Linked DNA regions of Homo sapiens: region 1 is linked to region 2. Evidence: promoter capture Hi-C in human tissues and cell types (Jung and others, 2019). All regions are on one chromosome and are shown on one strand. The core of a region is centred on a gene start or on the middle of the fragment in contact, and the rest is flanking DNA. Distances in the headings are between cores, read along the strand shown.

Region 1 (5,915 bases), core at 3,196-5,695, 790 kb after region 2:
TCTCCCAAAGTGCTGGGATTACAGGCGTGAGCCACCGCGCCTGGCCCCAAGTTGTCTTTCTTAAGATAACACTCCGGGCCAGGCACAGTGGCTCACGCCTGTAATCCCAGCACTTTAGGAGGCCGAGGTAGGCGGATCACGAGGTGAAGAGATCGAGACCATCCTGGCCAACGTGGTGAAACCCCGTCTCTATTAAAAATGTAAAAAAAAATTAGCTGGGCATGGTGGTGGGCGCCTGTAGTCCCAGCTACTCAGGAGGCTAAGGCAGGAGAATCGCTTGAACCCGGGAGGCAGAGGTTGCAGTGAGCCGAGATCACGCCAATGCACTCCAGCCTGGGCGACGGAGTGAGACGCCGTCTCAAAAAAAAAAAAAAAAAAAAAAAAGATAACACTATTTCTTTCATGGCTTTCATGGATGACCCTAAGGATCTGCCTCCACTTAGCCTCAGATAAGAAAAGAGCTAATATGTCACCAAGGTGGCTCAATAATCCCCTCCTTGGTCAGCAGTCTGAGCCCTGTGTGGCGGTCACTCAACTGTTATATAATCTGCCCGACTGTTTCTGTGGCTCTGAGTGAGCGTGGCTTATACTATCTGTCCTCACCAGAACAGGGCTGGGGTGAACGGCCATTCGGTACATACCTTCAACTGGAACAGGGTATCTGCAAAGAAAGAGGGAATTAATGGTTTGAGGATTGGGAATGGGACGTTACACTTCTGGCAGGCAGGACTCACTAGGTTCCTTCTAGACACCAGGAGCTAGAACACACACACAGACCACACCTGCCTGGGGCCTTCGGGGAGCCCCCCCCAACAGGGGAGGCACGAGACAGATTCGTGTGCCAGCCCTGGCTCCTTGCTAGCCACAGGGCCCAGCAAATGCAGACCCTCCCTCCCTGTTTCCTTGTTGGGAACATGAGGGTGGTACCAGCCAATCTCAAAGGGTTAGTGTGAGGACAGAAGAGGTCATGGACGCAGCATCTTTTGGCCATGGTTAGAATCCAAAAGATGGTGGTTTATAATTAATGCAACTTTGCAAATGTCCCTTGGGATTCTTTCCCAATTTAAAAGTTCACCTGTAATCCCAGCACTCTGGGGGTGCCGAGGCCAGTGGATCACTTAAAGCCAGGGTTTGAGGCCAGCCTGGGCCAATTTAAAAGTTCAGTACTTGACAGTTTACTTTTTACAGACTCTTTCTCCTCAAAGGTAAATGGATAAAAATAGCAAGGTGGTAACTCTTAGACATCAAAGAGCTGATTTCCAGCGGTACAGTCGCTCACGCCTGTAATCACAGCACTCTGGGAGGCTGAGGCGGGCAGATCACTTGAGGTCAGGAGTTCCAGACCAGCCTAGGGAATATAGTCAGACCTCATCTCTATTAGAAAAATATATATTTTTTTGCCGGGTGCGGTGGCTCACGCCTGTAATCCCAGCACTTTGGGAGGCCGAGGCCGGCGGAACATGAGGTCAGGAGATCGAGACCATCCTGGCTAACACGGTAAAAGCCCGTCTCTACCAAAAAATACAAAAAATTAGCCAGGCGTGGTGGCGGGCGCCTGTAGTCCCAGCTACTCAGGAGGCTGAGGCAGGAGAATGGCGTGAACCCGGGAGGCAGAGCTTGCAGTGAGCCGAGATTGCGCCACTGCACTCCAGCCTGGGCAACAGTGCAAGACTCCGTCTCAAAAAAAAAAAGAAAAAATATTTTTTTTAAAAAGTAGGATTGATCTCAATTCATTCAACTGCTAAATTTGGAGAGCGACCCTGACCCCAGATTCCTGAAAGGGCTTTACCACACTAGCCACAACGAGGAAATGGAGCCTGTAAAAGAATGAGGTTACTGAGTGTTCACAAATGCACACCAAGGCTCCAAGATGAGATCTCCCGGGGTTCCAGAAAGCTCTGGGCATCGTTCAATCTATCGCCTGTCAGTGCAGGCGTGGTCAAGGCCAAGTTCAACCTGTCATCTATCAGTTCAGGTGTGGTCACGGCCAAGGTTATCTGTGACTGGAAAACAGCCAGCCTGACCCAGATGGCACAGTGCAGGCCAGGCGGGCCGTCCCACCCAACTCACTGTGGGATGCTGGCCAAACCGCCCTCCTCATCTCAGCTTTCCCTCACCTCAGCTTTCCCTCACCTCAGCTTTCCCTCACCTCAGCTTTCCCTCACCTCAGCTCTCCTCACCTCAGCTTTCCTCACCTCAGCTTTCCCTCACCTCAGCTTTCCTCACCTCAGCTTTCTCTTCCAGCCGTGTGTGGCAGCACAAAAACCCAGCTAAGGCAAAATCTGACTCTGAGGAAATCTGACATGGGCTTGAGAGAAGTCCCCTCAAAAGAGTTGAGTGAGCTGTGGAGTGAAAAGCCACAATTTTTCTTTTTTTTTTTTGAGACGGAGTCTCACTCTATCACCCAGGCTAGAGTGCAACGGCACCATCTTGGCTCACTGCAACCTCTGCCTCCCAGGTTTAAGCGATTCTCCTGTCTCAGCCTCCCAAGTAGTTAGAATTACACGTGCACGCCACCAGGCCCAGCTAATTTTTGTATTTTTAGAAGAGACGGGGTTTCACCATGTTGGCCAGGCTGGTCTCAAACTCCTGACCTCAGGTGATCAACCAACCTCGGCCTCCCAAAGTGTTGGGGTTACAGGCGTGAGCCACCACATCCGGCCTCCCAAAGTGCTGGAATTACAGCCGTGAGCCACCGCGCCCGGCCTCCCAGAGTGCTGGGGTTACAGGCCTGAGCCACCACACCCGGCCTGGCCAGCATATTTTTTGTGGCGGGAGGTAGATGTTATCTTTCATCTTCTCTCAGGGCAGAAAATCTCTACACATTTCCTTCATGATGATGACACGGTGGTACTATAGCTTTTCACACTTCTAACTAAAAGAATTTTTTTTGAGACGGAGTCTCGCTCTGTCGCCCAGGCTGGAGTGAAGTGGCGCGATCTCGGCTCACTGCAAGCTCCGCCTCCCGGGTTCACGCCATTCTCCTGCCTCAGCCTCCCGAGTAGCTGGGACTACAGGCACCCGCCACCACGCCTGGCTAATATTTTTGTATTTCTAGTAGAGATGGGGTTTCACTGTGTTAGCCAGGATGGTCTCGATCTCCTGACCTTGCGATCCGCCGGCCTCGGCCTCCCAAAGTGCTGGGATTACAGGCGTGAGCCACCGCGCCCAGCCCTTCAAAAAGTATTTTTAAAAGCCTGCCCATCACACCAGCCCAACGATGTTTCAGCAAACATAGGACTTCATTTTGCCAGATTCTTCCTGTTCTTTGGTATCCCTGAGCACACAGCCGGCTAGCCCCAGATGTAGAAGGTAAGAATTAGGGCGACCCATTGAGCACAGAAACGCTTGTGCTGGCTCCTGCTCAAACCTCTGCTTCCCCACATGGAGAATGGACGCAAAGAGCTGCTGTGACCAGGGCCTGGCACTCAGGGAGCGCTTTCTGTCTGAGTCCTTCTGATTTGCAGTGATGCTGTTTGGGGCAGGGGGTGCAACTGTCACTTTTTCTGGTGCCCTCTGACCCGACATTCCAAGTCCCGAAAGGCCGAACAGGCATCGCACAGTCCCCCCTACCGAGCTGGCGGGAAAGGGCGCCTGACGCTGAGGAGTGCCAGGGGCGGGGGAAAGGGTCCTGGGTCGGTGGTCGGGGGTCCAGGCCCTGGGCAAGGGGTCCTGGGTCGGGAGTCTAGGTCCCGGGTCCATGGTTGGGGGTCAGAGGTCGAGGCCCCGGGGAAGGCATACCGGGTTGAGATTTGGGGATGGAGGCCCCGGGGAAGGGGTCCCGAATCGGGGGTCGGGGATCGAGGCCTGGGGGGAGGGGTCCCGGGTCGAGGGTCGAGGCCCGGGGTAAAGGATCTCGGGTTGGGGGTCGGGGGCCTGGGAAGGGTCCCGGTCGGTGGTCGGGGGTCGAGGCCCGGGAGAAGGGGTCCCGGGTCGGTGGTAGAGGCCCTGGGGAAGGGGTTCCGGGTCGGGGATCGAGGGTCGAGGCCCGGGAAAAGGGGTCCCGGGTTGGTGGTCTAGGCCCTGGGGAAGGGGTTCCGGGTCGGGTATCGGGGGACGAGGCTCGGGAAAAGGGGTCCCAGGTCGGTGGTCGAGGCCCTGGGGATGGGGTCCGGGTCGGGGATCGGGGGACGACGACCGGGAAAAGGGGTCCCAGGTCGGTGGTCGAGGCCCTGGGGATGGGGTCCCGGGGGATCGACGGTCGAGGCCCGAGCTCTCCTGAGTCCTGCCCGCGGCCCCAGGTGGGCGGAGCCCACGCCAGTGGGAGAAGCGGCCCCGCCCCGCGCGCGAGTCCCCGGAGGACGGCCGCGACCTCTTACCGTCCATGGCCACAATGACAGGAGCAGCACTCGGAGAGGGAGAAGGGACGCCAACTCCGGGCGGTGTCAGGTCCCGGCGGCGATCGAACCGACCAAGCTGCACCCGGCGGGGACTTCCGGGGTCGCCGCCCCACTTCCGGTCGCACGGGATGCTCTCGCGAGAGGATGGTGGCCGGTCCCGCCAGAGGGGCGGGGCGCGGCTGCGCGGCGCGCGGTCGCCATGGTGACGCACGCCGCTGGCGCGAGGACCTTTTGTGAGTCGCTCCCGGCTCCGCGGCCGCGGAGGTGTGGGGACCCGGGCTTGCGTCGGAGGGGGCGGTGGGCTCACCCATGGGCCTTTCCAAAAGCAAAGAGAAACCCAGGAAAGGTAAAGGAGGCGCAGGCGCTGGGCTCCCCGCGTCTCCGCCCCTGGGCGCGGGCCCAGGGCGGGGCTGGGCTGGGCGGGGCGGTGTGAGCGCAGGCGCCAGGCTCGGCCCGGTGCGAACCGTTCCTGCCGCCGAGTCCGCCACGGACGGCGCGTTTCCCGCCTGAGGCGGTTACGGAAACGCGGAGACTCGAGACTTGAAGCCAGCTTATTCTGGACCCACGCAGGCGACTGAAGACGATGGGACCCACTGCCCTGCATTCGGTAAGTCCCGGGTCTAACGGATGATCCATATATTTCAGGTGAGGAGCAAAAGAAGGGATCCACCTATTCAGTTCCAAAATCTAAGGAGAAGTTGATGGAGAAGCATTCCCAGGAAGCCAGGCAGGCAGACAGGGAGTCGGAGAAGCCTGTGGACAGCCTCCACCCGGGGGCCGGGACAGCCAAGCACCCGCCGCCGGCAGCTTCGCTGGAAGGTAGGAGACGGCGGGAGGGAGCGAAGCGAGGTCAGTGGCTTGGAGGATCTGGGGCTGGGGTGAGGAGCCTACTGTAAGACCCTACCGGATGGACACTAGTAGCAGGCACGCGCCGTAAAGATGAAACTGGTTTGTTTTGGGAACTTTATGTAGGAGGTAAATATCCAGAAATCTTAGTTGAAAACATAAGTTTAATGAAAATGTAGGTCAGTTCCCGAGTGATAAGTGCGTACCAGGTGGTCGAGGGGCTGGGGCAGTGTGCGTGTGTCTCACCTGAGGTTCTCCTCGAGGGCTGGGTATCTTGGTGCCACTGAGAATCCCTGAGCCTCCGCACACTGGAACAGAGCATTGGGAGGCCGTCCCAGGCTGGACTGTAGCTCTCCGAGGGCTGTGGGGATAAGTACATTGCGGAGGGTGACCGAGGAGTAGAACCTGGGTGCGACAAAGGTGTCTTTTATAACAGCCTAGTGTGGCCAGACCTTTGGGTGTGTGTGGGGAAGATGAGGCCCCAAAAGTAGGAAGAAGCTAGAATACAAAGTTTTCCATCAGTTTTACCACGTGGAGCTGGAAGCGTTAAATATTTTAAACAACGGAGGTGCTGCCTGGGGCGGTAGTTCACACCTGTCCTCCCAGTTATTTGGCCGAGGCAGGAGGATCTTTTGAGCCCAGGAGTTCAAGACCAGCTTGGGCAACATAGTGAGACCCTGTCTCTACAAAAAATAAATATTTAAAAATAAAAAACAAGGGCGGCATGAT
Region 2 (6,838 bases), core at 1-2,500:
GCCCAGGCCAGTGTTTCCTCAAGGTGACGGGGCTGCCCCCAGGGTCAGACCCCCTTCCCAGCAAGGCTGCCTGGCCCATGGCCGGGCGCCAGACCCTCTGGTAGAGATGGGGCCCCATTCGCTGCCTGCCCCTTCACCCCGCCCACCACTCACGTTGCCCACGTAGACGGATCTGTGGTCAGCCTCCACCTTCTCCTCGGGGGTCCCAGAGAGGGGGCAGCCTGCGGAGAACACAGCTCAGGCCCGCAGGCCCTTGGTTCCTTCCTCACTCCTCTCACGGGGAAGGTCGCCCAGGCTTATAGGGGAGGTGACACCTTGGAGCCTGCCAGGCCCAACCTTAATGGAAACTGTGGGACCCTTGCTCAGTGGGGGGCGGCCTGTGCCCTTGGTTCCTACCCACGGTCTCAGGGCTCAGCAGCTGCCCGGCCGCGGTGCCCTCCTCTTCCTCGGCCTGTTGCTGCACTCCTGGAGGCCGTGGCGTCCCCTCGGCCTGCTCCATGGCACACACCTTCATCTTGATGGCCTCCAGCTCCTGCCGACACACGGCCCTGAGCCGGGCAGGCAGCCTGCAGGCTCTGCTCAAGGAAGGTGGGTGTGTGGCCTGCCAGCTCCAGCAGAGGGTCACAGCCCCAAGGGGCAGCCCTTCTCTGGACAGGGACACTCCTTCCTGGGGCAGCTGGCTGGGGATGAACTCGCCCCTGCAGAGAAGCCCCCGAAACCGCACCTCAAGGGCCCTTCCCCAGGCGAGAGAGGCCACCTTGACCCTGCAGTCTGTGTGGCTGGGGGCGGGGGGTCTCCTTGCCACCTTCGTCCAGGCAGGTGGGCAATGGCCCTCTCCCCTCCTAAGTCAGCTGCAGCCATCCGTCACCCAGACCCCGTGTCTCCACCAGCCCCTGTGCCCCAGGTCCCCTGAGATCCCCAGGGCCTCCACACAGCTGTTACCTGGTCAGGCAATGGGCACTCAGCCAGGTTCTCTTGCTCCAGCAGAGACAGCAGAAAGCCTGCATCCCCATCCTGGTCTTCCTCTGCATCCTCTTCCTCCTCTTTCTCCTCCTTCCCTTCCCCACCCTCTGGCCCCAGAATCTCCTTGGTCTCGTTCCAGGCCCCCCAGCCCTGGGCCTCAGGGTCTGAGGAGACCGTCTGGAGCCAGGCCTGAGTCGGGGGTGGGAAGAGAGAGCGGCTCGGGAAGGGCCACATGGTAGAGGGGCAGGAGGAAGGTGGGCCAGGCGAGGCCTCCCCTCCACTCCCCTCGCGTCCGCACCTGCCCAGGCTCTCCTGGAGTTTTAAGCCCTCCCCTGAGGCCAGCTGCTCCCACTAGAGCATTTGCAAAGGCTGAGTGGGGCTGAGCTTCCAGCCTTGGCTCCCGGCCCCGCCCCTTCCCTGTCACTCGGACAGGTACCTCCAGGACACTCTCCCTGGAGGAAGGAGAGGCTGAGTTGAGTGGGGGTCACCGGTCTCTTCTGCTTCCGCCTGGCCACGCTGTGGCTCACTGGAGCCTTGGTCTGTGACAGGGTTCACACCTCAGCAGCATCCACACGGCACGAACGCCACACTGCATGAACACTCGATCTAAGTGGGAACACGGGAGTGGTTTCTTCTAGTACCAGGGACCAAGCAGGCTGGAGAGGTGGCTTCCGACCAGGAGAGGCAGGGCCTGAGCAGAGACCGAGAGCAGGTGCATGGGATGAGAGGGCCGAGGCAGGTTGGGGCGGGGTCCTGGGCCCAGAGGAGGGGCAGCAACAGCTGTCTCTGCATCCTGACCCCCATGGAGTCCCCAGGGACCCTTGCCTCCCTAACCCTTATTCTGGGCCTTTTTTTTTTTTTTCTTTTTTTTTTAGGCAGGAGTCTTGCTTTGTTGCCAAGTCTGGAGTGCGGTGGCGCGATCTCGGCTCACGGCAACCTTTGCCTCCCAGGTTCGGGTGATTCTCCTGCCTCAGCCTCCTGAGTAGCTGGGATTACAGGCACCTGCCACCATGCCCAGCTAATTTTTTTTGTCTTTTTAGTAGAGACAGGGTTTCACCATGTTGCCCAGGCTGGTCTCGAACTCCTGACCTCAGGTGATCCGCCCGACTCGGCCTCCCGAAGTGCTGGGATTACAGGCGTGAGCACCGCACCTGGTCTGGGTCATCTTTTAGGTGGGAGCCACTTCCATGAGGCCAGAATTATTCTGCTGTGGGGCGGGGGCTCCGTGGGGAGTGACGGCGTGAGTTATTGTGGGGCGGGGTCTCCGTGGGGAGTGACGGCGTGAGTTACTGTGGCGGAATTCAGTGGGCATCCGGTGGTGTCTGCACCTGGCTTCACCCATGCAGGGTTGCAGCAGGAGGTGACCCGTGTCCGCCCTTGCGCCTCCCTCTGCACCTGCCACCGCGGCTGCTGGAGTCTGCTCTGGCCTTCATCTCCAGTGCTGCCGTCTCCCACCCACTCTGTGAAGGACTCGGGGCCAGGGGGTCATGCATGGCTCTTACCCCTGCCATTGGTGGTGGGAGACGGGGCCCCCTGCACAGCTCCTACCCCCAGGCCGAGGCCATCCTCTCTGTGACTGCACCCCGGTGTTTAGCCAGTGGGGCTGGGATTCCTGGGAATTTGGGACTGGGGGAGGAGAGAGAGACAGGGCGTGGCCTAGGCTGGAGCTGCACTGCTGCACCATGCACCACCCACGCAGGGCGGCCCTTCCTCCATCTTGGGCTGGGGGCTCGGGGAGCAGGTGGACATGGAGGCTGCCACAGCCTGGGAACCCAGGCTCCTGCACCCAGTCTGTTCTCACCTCTGTAAAAGCCAGAAGGTGTCTGAGATGGGTCTCAATCAATCAGTTTAGAGGTGTATCTTGCCAAGGTTAAGGGTGCACCCAGGAAAAAGAAACACGAAGCCACAGGCAACATCTGTGCTCTGCTTTTTCCAAAGAGGGTTTGGAGGCCGGGCATGGTGGCTCACGCCTATAATCCCAGCAGTCTGGGAGGCCGAGGTGAGCGGATCACTTAAGGTCAGGAGTTCAAAACCAGCCTGGCCAACATGGTGAAACCCTGTCTCTACTAAAAATACAAAAACAATTAGCCAGGCATGGTGGCGGGCGCCTGTAATCCCAGATACTTGGGAGGCTGAGGCAGGAGAATCACTTGAACCCGGGAGGCAGAGGTTGCAGTGAGCCGAGATCGCGCCACTGCACTCCGGCCTGGGCGACGGAGTGAGACTGTCTCAAAAAACAAAAACAAAAAAACCCAAAGAGGGTTTGGAGACTTTTATACTTAAAGGGAAAGAGCGGGCAGGAGGGGAACACAGGAAGGAAAGAAAAGGGAGGGCGGATAAAAGGCAAGTGGTAGCGTTCCTTTGAATCTCTGATTGGCAGTCACCAAATGCACATTTTGAAATGTGGAAGGTGGGGGTAGAGAAGAGAATTACGTAGCCCCACGCTCAGCGACTCTGCGTTTCCACAGAAGATAAAACTGCCACAGGGAATAGGAAGCTGGCAGGTTCGCATTCGCCTCCGGTGAGCGGAGGGTAACGTTAGCTCTGTCCTTTGTCCCATACCTGGGAAGATAAGCTGCTAGATCACACTATCTGGGTGGGATCCAGCAGAACTGTTTCAGAGCCAAGATCTTGGGACCCACAAGGAATTTCCCTGTAAGCGCGATGCGAGGAGGCACAGGCTTCTTCATCTTCGTGGCTGTCCAATTAGGAAGAAAATGGGAGGCAGGTGTGTGTGATTCGGCTCCCAGCTTGACTTTTCCCTTTGGCTTAGTGCGTTTTAGGTCCCGAAATTCTGTTTTCTTTTCCCACCTCCAGGAGGCTGACTGAAGACCATGCTGTCACCCCATCTGTTCACCACCCAGAGGATTTTCTGGGGCAGGCTCATGAGGTCGGGGAGGAATGGGCCTTGTCTGGAACCTGGCTATGGCCCTGGACGCCCCTTCCCCTCTCCCTGGCTCCGCACAGCCACACACTTACGTGTGCGTGGTCCCTGGACGCTGTTCCCCCTGCGAACACGGTGCCACTGTTTCCGGGAGGGCTGCCGGGCTGCTCCTCCTCCCTCGAGAGCCGCTGTCCTCACGCCTTTCCTGCTGTCCGTCCAGTGTTGATGACTTGGCCAGCTCTCCCCTTAGAAACCAAAGCTCCTCAGGGGCAGCGCCCACATCTGCACCGAGGACAGGTACGCTGGGTGGAGTGCGGCCTCAGCCTGGGATCCTCCTGTTGGGATGGAGCCCCCTGCCCCGTGTGTCTGTGCCTGTGTGTTGGAGGGTCTGCCAGCACCCGTGCCTCCACCTCCCTGTCAGAGGCAGGATTGCAACCAGTTCCATCCAAGACCAGAGTCTGCTGGACTCGGCCCAGGCCCTGACGCATGCCCCTCTGAGCTCGGGCCCCGGCCATGGAAAACCTTGTCATCCTCACCCTGTCTGAGATTGCTGACACACAAGGCCCGGCCAGGGCTCCTGCCAGCTGCCTGGCAGGGGACAGACGGCTCCGACCCTGGCCTTTCCAGTGACACTCTTCAAATACACCCTGTTCCAGAGCCGGGCCTGAGGATTCATGGCAGCCTGGCCCCTGGGGCCCCAGCGCCCAGGACAACTCCTATTCCAGACAGGATCCGTGTGTGACCCAACACCAGGGCCCCATGGGGGTGGCTGAGAGGGGCAAGCCGTCCCTTCCTGTGCTGTCCACCCTCAGGTCCCCTGTGTCCCCTCAGTTTTCATTTCTTTTTTTTTTTTGAGATGGAGTCTCACTCTGTTGCCCAGACTGGAGTGCAGTGGCACGATCTCGGCTCACTGCAACCTCCACCTCCTGAGTTCAAGGGATTCTCCTGCCTCAGCCTCCCAAGTAGCTGAGATTACAGGCACCCGCCACCACACCCAGCTAATTTTTTGTATTTTTAGAAGAGATGGGGTTTCACCATGTTGGCCAGGCTGGTCTTGAACTCCTGACCTCAGGCAATCCACCCGCCTCGGCCTCCCAAAGTGCCGGGATGACAGGCGTGAGCCACCGTGCCTGGCCTCCCCTCAGTGTTGTCTGTGTCCCCTGAGGTCCCCTGTGTCCCCCATCGGGGTCGGAGGTGTCATGGCCCCAGCCCCAGCACTGTCTGAGGTGGGGCTGCTCAGGCAGGGGCTCCAGTCTTGGAATCCTCAGGACCATCTCCCGGGTGTAAAGTTGTTGGGACCCCCCCAAAGTCCCCTTTGCAGGCTCAGCCGTTGCCAGCCCTGCAGGGACCCTCGTGGCTGGGGCTGCTGCTCCTCCCTGCCTGTGTGCTCCCGCCCTGCCTCTTCCCCGTCGTGCTCCCGCCCTGCCTCTTCCCCGTCGCCCCAGCCCCACGTCACACACTGGCCTGTTTGTCCCTGCAGTGTGCGTGGTGCATGGGGAGGCCCCGCCCTACCAGGCACGGAGGAGCCCCAGCAGGTAATTAGTGAATTCACGGGTGAGACGAGGCTCAGCCGAAGCCTCCTGGGACCCAAGGAGAGGAACAGCCAGGCGACAGCGAACGTTCGCTTTATTACACGGACACGGCGCTAACCCGACTATTGCATCTCACAGCATCTACAGGCCAAACCCATAGTACGTCAGACGGAGCGGCGAGGGCCACCTCGCAGCCCTGCACAGCCTGCAGACCCAGGGCATGGGCTTCTCACAACTACAGAAAACAACTCAACTCCTCTGGGAGAGTCAAAAAAAAGAGGAGGAGAAAGTAGAGAGTAAGTCCCCTCCCCACCAGGCTGCACATGGCTGTGCCCCCGCCTGGTCCTCACCGGCCCGACCCCCTCGGCCCTGGCAGATGGGGTTGGGGAGCTGACAGCTGGCCTGGCGGGGCTCCCCACCCCAGCCAGGTGGGGACAAGGGAGGCCTGTTGCCGTCATTGACGTATTTCAAAAGCAGGTTTCACTCTGAGTACTGACGCTGAGTTCCCGTTCCTCTGGGTCTTTGGGAAGCTACTCCGGGGCTTGGCTGGATTGAAACATAAAGAACAGAAAGTGTCCAAAATGGAGTTTCCTAGAACTTCGGGAAAATGGAGCAGGGGTTGTCAGCAGCGCCCTGGCCTTATCTCTGAAGTGTGCACGGGAGCTGGCGGGCCTCTGGGAGGCCAGCCCCATGGACTCCCCCCTCTCCTCACTGTCTTCCTCTCCGGCCAGCACGCTCATCATCCAGGGCCCCAGCCCCATTTTGGAGAGCACCCCCTCAGTGTGGGAGCTTGCAGGGCAGTGTGGGAGGAAATAGGCCCCGGGGCTCGGGGATGCAGGGCAGGGAGGCTGCAGAGGACCCTGGGGAGCACCCATCACTCCTGGCAGAATTTATCCAGGCAGGTCTGTTCCCAGAAGTCCCCAGTCTCAGGCCGTAAGGACTCAACTCTGAGCCATCTGGGATCCCAGGAAAGGGAATGGGAGCCTGGCACCTGTGAGTACACCCCGAGGAGTGGGGCTCCAAGAGTGCTGGGGTCTCGGGGAGGCTGCATGGGGTCACCCTCCTCTCCTGGGGACACCCCCTCCAGGCATTGACCCCTGGAAACAAGGAGTGGGAGAGGGCGGCCCTGCAGCGTCGCGGCCCTGCCAGGGAATGTGCTCACCCTGGCGCCCTGGTCGGGGACCCTGGGCAGGTGTGTGGGCCGCCACCCAGTGTGTGCTCCTGGCCCCGGCCACCCACCTGGAGCTCCAGGTGGCCCCAACTGGCCAGAGCTGTTGCGAGGTACTGGTCCCACCTGCTCACAGCACCTGCAGCAGAATTTTATCTGCCCCTGCAGGTGTCTGGAGCAGTCCTGGACTGCGCTGGGTATGGAAGAGGCTGCCGCCCACCAACAGGTTCCCTTAGGGCAACAGCTGAGGTCATGGCAGGAGCAACCCTTGTCACTGGCACACGACGGGGG

What was found. Contacts are between HindIII fragments. The study calls those that stand out against the background at their distance.
Region 1: the fragment with the promoter of CHMP1A here is called in contact with the fragment with the promoter of PABPN1L in region 2 in 1 of the 25 tissues and cell types used here (lymphoblastoid cells).

Annotation. Positions count from the first base shown.
Region 1 is chr16:89,653,263-89,659,177 of GRCh38, forward strand. It overlaps CHMP1A (charged multivesicular body protein 1A), which reads right to left and starts at 4,446. Exons shown (of 7, transcript NM_002768.5): 1 at 4,320-4,446; 2 at 642-661. The coding sequence starts at 4,326. SPATA33 (spermatogenesis associated 33) reads left to right here and starts at 4,574. Exons shown (of 3, transcript NM_001271907.2): 1 at 4,574-4,686; 2 at 4,986-5,159. The coding sequence starts at 4,650. RefSeq lists silencers at 4,173-4,232, 4,453-4,842 and an enhancer at 4,558-4,727. The HindIII fragment of the contact is 33,607 bases long and covers 1-5,915 here.
Region 2 is chr16:88,865,410-88,872,247 of GRCh38, forward strand. PABPN1L (PABPN1 like, cytoplasmic) reads right to left here and starts at 1,251. Exons shown (of 7, transcript NM_001080487.4): 1 at 943-1,251; 2 at 397-532; 3 at 154-221. The coding sequence starts at 1,197. RefSeq lists an enhancer at 5,819-5,958. The HindIII fragment of the contact is 11,880 bases long and covers 1-6,838 here.